2 separate regions of the Homo sapiens genome follow, and region 1 is linked to region 2. The links are contacts of gene promoters, found by promoter capture Hi-C in human tissues and cell types (Jung and others, 2019). All regions are on one chromosome and are shown on one strand. The core of a region is centred on a gene start or on the middle of the fragment in contact, and the rest is flanking DNA. Distances in the headings are between cores, read along the strand shown.

Region 1 (4,952 bases), core at 725-3,224, 42 kb before region 2:
AGGCAGCAAAAGGCTTCCCAGGCCAAAAGGCCACCCCAAAAAGGCACTGGCTGCCCCCGCACATCCAGCGTGTGTTCAAGCTCAGGCTCTGGCTCAGGCCCCGGGACTCACCGGCCGTGTATTTTCCCGGCTCGTCAGTTTTCTCCAGGACGGCCTTCACCTCCTGGCACCGGCCACTTATCCTGGAAAACAGAAGCCCCCTGGCAAAGCGGCCCTGGCCTGTGCCTCCCCCGGCCCTGGAGCAACCATGCTGCAATGCCCTGCAAATGTGGCCCCGAGTCTGCCACAGGCCCATGGAGGAGGGTGCTTCTCTGCATCTCAGACCCAGGCACCAGCGGCCCCTCCGGGTCCCATGCGGCAGTTCCCGGGGTCTCCCGAGATGGCCAGGAGCTCTGCACCGCTCCTCCTGGTGGCTGCCTTCCCAAACCCCCCGCCCCCAACACATTTCCTGCCAGAGGCACCCAGGCTGCCTGGTTTGCAGGCAGCGTCTGTGGCGTGGGCCTGAGCCTCATCCCGCCAGCTGCATTCTTCCTTTTAGAGACATTCAGGCACAAGCCCCATATCCATCATCATCTGGCCCAGAGAGGGAAAGGTTCAGTGAGGGGCTTTGGGGGAAAAAAAAATCGGGGTCATTGCCAGGGTCAGTGACTTCCTGAGATTCAGCCCCCAGGACCGGAGCACAGGCACTGCATGCCACTCAGGAGGGAGCCATGCGGGTGAAATCACACAGGTGGGAAGTCACAGATGTGAGCCACGCGGGTGGAAGCAGCCCAGGTGAGAGCCGCACAGGTGAGCGCTACACAGGGATTTCAAGGGGGTCTTCTCCATGGTGTCTTCTCCTATGCCCCCTCTTGGTCATTCTGCAAGCCCCATCCCTGCACTTCTCCAAAGCAGAAATTTACTGCCAGGACTGGCTCTGACTCTGGTCGGGGGTAAACACCTTTTCCCAAAGGGGCCTGCACGTCACCAGACATTCCCTAGTCGGAGGAGGAAGTGGGCGGTACCCAGGGCTGCCACTGGTAGCCCACAGGGTCTGATCCGGGGCCTCTGCCCCCTCAGGGCCCCTCCAGCCGAGGCACCTCAGTGGCACAGTTTGCCCTCAAGCATTGCAGGAGGGGCCGAGAGAGGCCTCCCAGCAGGTCTGCCCACCTCCCCAGCACCAGAGCTCTCCTGGGTGGGGAAAGGGAAGGCCCTAGACCAGGTTGCAGGCTGCCCGGCCGGCTGGCAGACACTCACAGCATGGTGACCTTGGCTTCCAGGTTGCCCCCTTCCAGGGTCGTGAGGGTCATGGGTGTCACCGATTCCAGATTCATCTCAGGGAACTCCCTGTCCACCGTCATGGCCTTCAGATACCACGTCCCTGACACCTGGAGAAGGCCCCTCTCTATCAGGCTCAGGCCGACTGCTCCAGAGCCTCCCCCTTCCCTGGCCTGCAGCCCCTAGACTCTACCGCACCCCGAGGGCTGGAAACGGGGAACGTTCCCCAATCTAACCCACCCAGAAAACACCCAGCACCCTCGCCAGGCCCACTTGAAGGTGGCTCCAGCCCCCACAAGCCAGCCAGGACCACAGGAGCCCTCATCCCCAGGGAAGAAGTGAAGTCAGCCAGACCCCCACCCTCCCAGCCCTGCCCACTCTGCACCCCTGCGCCACCTACCCTGCCAGCCCAGACCCCTGCTGCCCCATCCCACCATTCCCTCAGGGCAGGGCTTGAATGCCCAACCCAAAAACGAGGGTCTCCTTGGATGGAGGAGGCATGGGGTCTCCATCCAGTCTCAGCCTCGCCCCTTGCCCCCTCCAGCCCAGCCTTCCCATCCGGGCCTCACATCCTGAATCTCCTCGTCTGAGGCCAGGAGGTGGTGGGCCTGCAGGGCAGCAATGAGGCCAAGGCTGACGGCCAGGAGCAGGGGCTTCATCTCCGGAGTCTGAGTCCACGGCCGCCTGACAGGTCGCTTGCTGGGGCTGGGAGAGGCTGTACCAGTCCTCCCACAGCCGCCCTTTATACCGCTGGGCTCAGGGTCCCCCAGGGACCTGGCACAGGAGACTGACCAATCCCTTCCTGGATGTAAACCACTGCCAGTTCTGCAATGGAGCAGATAACCTGCCATTATTGTTGGAGGCTGGTGAATAACAGCTTGTTAATCCCAGAGGATCACTTGGACAGGACCAGGTCCAGAGGAGCAGATTTGCAGATTTCACCTGAAGGGAAACTGAAGGGAGTGAAGGGTGTGCAGGCCTCCTGGGGACGTGTGCAGCCGTAACAGATGCCCCCCAGCCATCCCACACTTGCTGACGTGCACACTGTCAAGGGGGTTTGGGGTTGGAGTCCGAGGGCCGTGGGCTTGGGGCTCAGCTGAGCTTCCTGCATCTCTGGGCAGGTTACTTGGCCTCAGATTCATCATGGAAAAAAAGGGACCCTCCTGTGTGAACACGATCCCGTGTGCATTTAAAGACGGTGTCCACTGTCCTGAGCAAGGTGTGCAGTAACGACCCTCTCTGCTCCACACACAGAGCAGCAATAGGTCAGACAGACAGAAGACCAAGACAGGTGTGTGTGTGTGTATGCATGTGTGTACATATATACATGCACAAACGCACACACACTCACATAAAACAAGGAATGGAGGAGAAGCACAGGCTGGTGATGGGGCAGAGGCAGGGGCCTGTCAGCTCCAAGTCCCAAGGCAGGCAGAGAGGGCCTAGGTCCGGCTCCTGGGAGTGATGGGAGGGGCTTCCCTGACTCCAGAAAGAAGGCTGAGAAACCCTCCTTGACACATCCCAGGGCTGTAACTTCGTATAACTTAGTGGAGCACTGTGGGCATAGGAAGGCAAGAGGACATCAACACAGCCTCAAGGGCAGAAGCTGAGACAAGCCGTCCTTGGAAAGGATGACTTTATCTGTGACATGCTCTGCATCACTGCAGAGCAGAAGCCTGGGACCCGGGATGGGAGCAGAGGCTACAAAACACTGCTAGACAGAGGACAGTGACAACAAGATGGCAGAGAAAGGCAGAAATGCAGAGACACAATATCCTCACCTTGAAATAAGCTAGAAAGGCCAGGTTCCAAATTACCCAAGGAAACACCACACTAAGAAAGGCAGGCTAAAAATGAGCAATTGGTACAGGAACTTACACCAGCCAAGGAAAGTCTGACACACACTTTAAAACTGCAGGAGTATGATCAAGATGCCTAGTGATTTAAAAATATATAAAGTATAAAATTAGAACTGGCCAGAATATAAGAAATAAGGAGAGACGAAATAGAAATAATTACAAATCTTGAAGATGAATAATAAAGTGAATAAAAAACTCAATAGACAGGTTAAATTCCAGACTTGACATAGTAGAAAAGAGACTTAGTGTCATGGAAGATAGTACTAACAAAATCAATGAAAGCAGAAAAATTCAAAAGAGAAATTGAGGTGTTACAGATAGATTCAGTCTCCAGCCTGGAGCTAGTAATAAAATGAGTGGAGGAAACCAACTAGAGTGCAGCAGCTCTGAAAACACAACACACAGAGATATACACACACACATGCACACACACGCACACACACATGCACACACACACATGTGCACACATACAAATGCACACAAACCCATACACATGCACACCCACATACACACGCAGACATACACGCGTGCACACACCATTCATTCATACATACATGCACATACATGCACACATACACACACACATGCACACTCACACACATACACACATGCACACACATGCACAAAGTTAACACACATGGAGAATAGATCAGGAGGTTCCAATATAAACAGAATAGGAGTTCTGAAAGAAAAACATTTTCTAAAATGGCAACAAAGCAACAGAATAGCTCAGAATTCTTCAGAATTGAAAAGACATGAAGATGACACCCCAGATCTAAATTACCAAGGAATGATCAAAATTGAGAAATCCACTCCTAGAATATTACAGTGAAATGCAGATCATCCAGGAAAGGAGAAAAAAAGTCAAAATGACCAGAAAGAAGAGCCACACTACATACCATAAAAGCGGATGTGGACTGATGGCAGACCTCTCAATAGCAACGCTGCCTTCCGGAAGACAGTGGAGTGACGTCTTTAACAGACCCGGGAGAAATCACATTTACCTGTGAATGTTATTCTCAGTGCAACTTTCATAAAATATTGAAGGCAAAATAAAGACATCTCGGACATTAAAAAACAACTGAGGCCCAGTGTGGTGGCTCATGCCTGTAATACCAGCACTCTGGGAAGCCAAGGTGAGGTCAGGAGTTTGAGACCAACCTGACCAACATGGTGAAACCCCATCTTGACTAAAAATACAAAAATTAGCCAGGCATGGTGGCGTGCACCTGTAATCCCAGCTACTCAGGAGGCAAAGGCAGGAGAATTGCTTGAACCTGGGAGGCAGAGGTTGCAATGAGCTGAGATCATGCCACTGCACTCCAGCCTGGGCAACAGAGCAAGACTCCATCTCGAAAAAATAATAATAATAAAAATTAAACAACAACAACAACTGAGAGCGTCTACCACTCACTGGTCTCCATCAAAGGAAATTTGAAAGGGAGAATTTTAGCAAGTCTATAGGAGACCGAGGTCAGGGGGATAAATGATGTCAGCAAGGCAAACTACCTGCTGGCTGTACAAACACAAATGGTGCAGACTTTGATGGTGGGGGAAAGGTTCTGTTTCAGTGCATATTTAAAGAGTGCTAAATGCACACAAAACACACTTGTGCCCACATGCATGGGTTCATACGAACAAGAATGCACACAAAACACACTTGTGCCCACACGCATGGGTTCATATGAACAAGAATGCACACACAAAACACACTTGTGCCCACATGCATGGGTTCATATGAACAAAAAGATGCACGTTAAGCACGGGAGAATAGCGATGCATGGAGAGGGAAGTGGAAAGGGGTGGGCAGGGATAATAAATTTTCAAAATACATAA
Region 2 (5,087 bases), core at 2,221-4,720:
GGAAGGCCGAGGCGGGTGGATCACCTGAGGTCAGGAGCTCAAGATCAGCCTGACCAATATAGTGAAACTCCATCTCTACTAAAAAAACACAAAAATTAGCCGGGCATGGTGGCGCATGCCTGTAATCCCAGCTACTTGGGAGGCTGAGGCAGGAGAATTGCTCGAACCCAGGAGGTAGAGTTTGCAGTGAGCTGAGATCATGCCACTGCACTCCAGTCTGGGCGACAGAATGAGACTCCATCTCAAAAAAAAAAAAAAAAAAAAGAAAGAAAGAAAAAGAAACAAAAGGTGAGCCTGGCCACCTACACACAGGTGAGCCCAAAAGGGGTAACCAGCAATTAACCAGGGGGTGAGACAGATTCAGAAGTAAGTCATTTGCTAGCACCAATTTGTGCCCTACAAGGGAAACTAAAATACAAGAATTACTTGAAATTACTTGAAATTCTGTGAGTCCAGGTTGACTGTGATGAAATGGCAGCCAGTGTTCCCACACGGCCCAGAGATCAGGTCCTCATCACTCCACTTACACACCGAGGCATTCTCTCTCTGCTTTTTCAATAGACTTTTGACTACCAGAATCAAAGAGAATCAGAGGCATCTAATTACAGGCTGAAGCTACAGTTGATAAATTTTTTTTTTTTGGAAAGAAATATCATTAACTTAAGGGCTCAAAATTAACTTTTGAAGGAACTTACTCTAAGACATTTAACCACAAGTACAAATATATTTAACTTAATGTATTAAGACAAATACATTTAACCACAAGTAATGTATAGCTATCCTGGACAGCAGATCTGATGCTGGCTGAAGTGATGGGGATGGGGCACGTATGTGACGTTATCTGCTAGTTCTCAAATTCTGGCCACCCACTGCAGCCCATGACATCCCCCATAAAGTCACCTTCTGGAGAGATTCCCCACTGACACAGAGCACTGGGGGACCAACAATGCGAGAGGAGCTCTTTCACTGGCTAGCAAACCCACGCCTGCCTTACTGTAGGTGTTATTCAAATTGCCTCTGCAAAATGACATAAATGACAAAACATTTGCATTAGCCTTGGGCTGAGGAGCGTCTAAATTAAGACTATTGACTCCTTAAACAGCAATACTACCTTAAGAATACTACCTTAAATACTACCTTAAGAAAACCGGCCCAAGTCAGTGTCTTTACACTAGATGACAAGGTCGGGGAGGGGAGTTTTCCTGGGGAAATAGTCTGTTCTCCACTAGCCACATTTACAGCTTCTGACTGGTTGCAGAGAAGGCCTGGACACCCAGTGAACAGTTTTCTAAGTTGTCAAATCACCTAGTTCAAGAATGGTATTAAAAAATCTGGCCAGGTGCAGTGGCTGACGCCTGTAATCCCAGCACTTTGGGAGGCTGAGGCAGGTGGATCACCTGAGGTCAGGAGTTTGAGACCAGCCTGGCCAATATGGTGAAACCCCTCCTCTGCTAAAAATACAAAAATTAGCTGGGCGTGGTGGCGTGTGCCCGTAATCCCAGCTACTGGGGAGGCTGAGACAGGAGAATTGCTTGAACCCAGGAGGCAGAGGTTGCAGTGAGCCGAGATCGCGCCACTGCACTCCAGCCTAGGAGACAGAACGAGACTCCATCTCAGAAAGAAAAAAAAAAATCGAGGGGGGTCGTCTCCCCAGGACAGCTTGTGGCTTTAAAACATTATGCGAGATGAATCATTCTTGAAAAGCCCCCTGGGTCGGGGATAGTGGCTCACACCTGTAATCCCAGCACTCTGGGAGGTGGAGGCAGGTGGATCACTTGAGGCCAGGAGTTCGAGACCAGCCTGGCCAACATGGCGAAACCCCATCTCTACTAAAAACACATAAATTAGCTGGGCGTGGGAGCCCACGTCTGTAGTTCCAGCTACTCCAGGGGCTGAGGCACGAGAATCGCTTGAACCAGGGAGGCGGAGATTACAGTGAGCCGAGATCAGCCATTGCACTCCAGCCTGGGCGACAAAGCGAGACTCTGGCTCTAAAAAAAAAAAAAAAAAAAAAACAAGAAAAGCCCCCTAATCAGTCCTTAGAGATAGGTGTGGGCCCAAGCCAGAGGTGCAGGCTTTGTCAAATTGCTGCCTCAGGATACGGTCTTGAGGGTGGCTGTGGGGACACCCAGCACCTGCACCCCAAGGCCACACGGTGTCAGATTTTAGGAAGCGGTGGAGAACACTCGGGTACCTTCTCGGTCCAGACATCAACCTTCTGGAGAGAACCAAAGCACCCACACTGGGCCCTCGCCATCCTAACAGTCTGCCCACCTGTGAGAAACGCCCCCAAATACTCTACATTTCTCGGTTGGCCGAAAAGCAGCTCAGCCAGCGGTCTTACCTCCCAGGTGGGGTTTCCCCCCAGGGTAGGGAGGCCAGGGTCTGCAGGCCAGGGAGAGGAGCCCCGGTGCAGGAGCGGGCGGGGCAGCAGGAGGACCCGCTCCAGCCACCCAGAAGTGGGCGTGGGCTAGAATTCAGCTCCCAGCCTTCCAGAAGCTGCAATTTTACAACCTCACTACAAGCGTCCCCCAGCAAAGCTGCACCGCCATTTCCTGTGCTTGGGAACTGAAGGCAAGGTGAGCCCCTCCCGGCTGCCCCGGCCCGACCTCCCCTGACTCCCAAGCTTGGGCTACTCACGGCCTGCGGGCTGGGCAGGGTCCCCCAAGGGAGCTCCCCTCCCCGAGGGCGCGCTCACCCTAGCCGCTGGGATCGGCGACCTGGTCCTCGGCCCGGCGGGAGTGAACGCCTCCCAGGGAAGAGGCCGGGCCTCCAAGCAGGTCTGCACCCCCGGAGTTATGTTTCTGGGATCCGAGGACTAGCGAGCTTGGGGCCCGGGAGAGCGGCCACCCTCCCGGAAGCTCCGCCTGGCGCAGGGCGTGAACCGCAGTCTCCAGGCCGGCCGGGCCGCGGCCATTCTCGGAGGGCAGCGGCCGCCCCGGGCCGGGCCAAAGCTCCCCACCGCGGGCCCTCACCTGCGCCTCACCTGGGGCTCCAGGAGCGCGGGGCGCGCGGGCCGAGAGTCGCACGGAGGCCAGAGACAGGATCCCCGCCCGGGGAACGGAGCAGCCCCGGCGCCGATCCCCGTCCGCCTGCCTCGGGGAGCCCCCGCCGCCCGCCCGCCGCGGCCTGCACGGCGCGCCGGCCCCGGCCTGGCTGGCCCTCCTGTCCCCGACCCCCCAGCTTCCCAGCCCCCGAGCCCCCCGGCCCCGGCCCTGCACCCGCTCACCTCCGCCCGTCCCCCGCCGCCCGCCGCGCGGACCCCGCCTGCGCCCGCGTCCCACGTCCCGGGGGAGGCGGCGGGCCGGGGGCGGGCCGGAGGCTGCAGGGCCAGCGCGCTCCGCCCTCGGCCGGGGCGCGGGGAGGGGGCGCAGGGGCGTCCGGCCGGGCCCCCCGCCTCCCCGCCTCCCCGCGCGCCGCCGCTGCCGCCGCCCCGCGCCCGGGCCGCGCCGTGGGAAGCGCGGGAGGGGAGGGGCGGGGCGGGGGGCGGGGCGACCCCCCCAAGCCGCCCCCTCCCCGCGACCTACCGGACGGTGGCGGCGGCGGCCGCACTCCGGAAGCCGTGCCCGTGGCTGGGCATCATGGGAATGGCACGGCCGAGTTCCGGGGGAGGCGCGCGGCCCGGCCGGACCCCCGCCCGCGAGAGCGCGCCCACCTGCCGCCGCGCCCGCGCCCCGGGGACGCCCCCGCCCCGCCCCGCCCGGTTCGGACGCGGCCCCCTCCGCGGGGTGCGGGGCGAAGGCGCTTGGGCCGGGCCGAGCCCCGTGCTGCCCGCCTCCCGTACCGCGGCCACCTCCGGGGGGCGCGCAGGGGGCGCGGGGTCGCCGGGAAGTTCTGGGCGCGGGGGGCGTGGCCGTGGGAAAGCGCTCGGAGCCGCGGGAAGGGAGCGTGCGGGGCCCCGGCGCCAACCGAGTTCCTCCCCGAAGTTCACGCGGGGCTCCGGGCTGAGACCGGCCCGCCCGCCCCTCCAGCCCCACAGCCTTGGGCCGGGGTCGGGGGCGGCCCCCGCGTGTCCCCGCGGCTGCCCCACCCGAGCTTGCGGCGGGGAGTGGACGCACGACCTGCCCGGGGCGGCGGCTCCTCGAGCACACCTGCCGCCAGGTTCGGGGGAGGGAACAGTTTCTAGGAACTGCCCCGGACCTTGAGGCCGCTGCTGTTTCTGCTTCTGCTGTGCACTGACCATGTGACCTTGAAAGTCTTCCCAGTTTTGTTTTATAAAAGGTCCAGGGTGTGTGCCCGAGGCTGGCGGTGGCCCGGGTGTGCTCAGCATCCCCGGGCGGCGGGGAACGGGCAGACCCGACTGGATCCTCCCTCAGCGCCCACTCGTGGAAGGGGCAGATGGTGCGCAGGGGCACCGCGCTGCTTCTGTAAGCCCCCTGGGCCCTGATCCACACGTGTCTGGGAGATGAATTTGTGGGTTCGGTTCCTGTCTAGAAAGTGTCAGAGATTTGATAGGATCAAAATCAGAGACTTGCCTTGGAGGGGTGCTTCTAGTCATGCCAGCCTGGGAAGCTGGAGGGCCAGTTTTGGGTCAGGAAACCCATTAAAGAATTGTTTTAATGCCTTCGTGAATTTTTTCAAAAAGCAATTTTTTTTTTCTCATGAAATAATACTCTTTCATTACCAAACTTTGGGGAGATGATCTAATTAATAAGGTGACTTCCCAGAGACATGGGCTGTTAAGGTTTTGGCATGCTGCTTCACAGTTTTTAAAACAGTGCTGTGGTGAACAGCTTTCATGATGCCTCCTTAGAGCGGCTCTGAGCATTTCCTGCGGGCAAATCCCTAGAAGAGGCCGGCGGGCCAAAGACTATGCTGCATTTTGCCAAAATGCCCTCCAGAAATGCGGGGCCAGCCTGCCGTCCACCCACTGGTGAGCGGGCATGCCCGCTTGCCTGTCCTCTTGCCAGCCCTGAGATATGTCATTGCGTTATGTCTTTGGCAGTCTGATAGGCGAAACAGCCCTTTTCATCACTTGAATCCTAATTTCTTTGACTGCTGGTGATGTTGAACATCTTTTCATTTTATTATTGGCCATTTGGAATATTGCCTGTCTGTGTTCTTTGCCCATTTTTTATTTTTCTGTT

What was found. The method cuts DNA at HindIII sites, captures the fragments that hold promoters and counts their contacts. A contact is called where the count stands out against the background at its distance.
Region 1: the fragment with the promoter of LCN1 here is called in contact with the fragment with the promoter of PPP1R26 in region 2 in 1 of the 25 tissues and cell types used here (psoas muscle).

The regions. Positions count from the first base shown.
Region 1 is chr9:135,518,462-135,523,413 of GRCh38, reverse strand. It overlaps LCN1 (lipocalin 1), which reads right to left and starts at 1,974. Exons shown (of 7, transcript NM_002297.4): 1 at 1,827-1,974; 2 at 1,237-1,367; 3 at 112-182. The coding sequence starts at 1,916. The HindIII fragment of the contact is 21,100 bases long and covers 1-4,952 here.
Region 2 is chr9:135,478,165-135,483,251 of GRCh38, reverse strand. It overlaps PPP1R26 (protein phosphatase 1 regulatory subunit 26), which reads right to left and starts at 3,470. Exons shown (of 4, transcript NM_014811.5): 1 at 3,230-3,470; 2 at 437-569. RefSeq lists silencers at 2,829-2,878, 2,889-2,948. The HindIII fragment of the contact is 17,940 bases long and covers 1-5,087 here.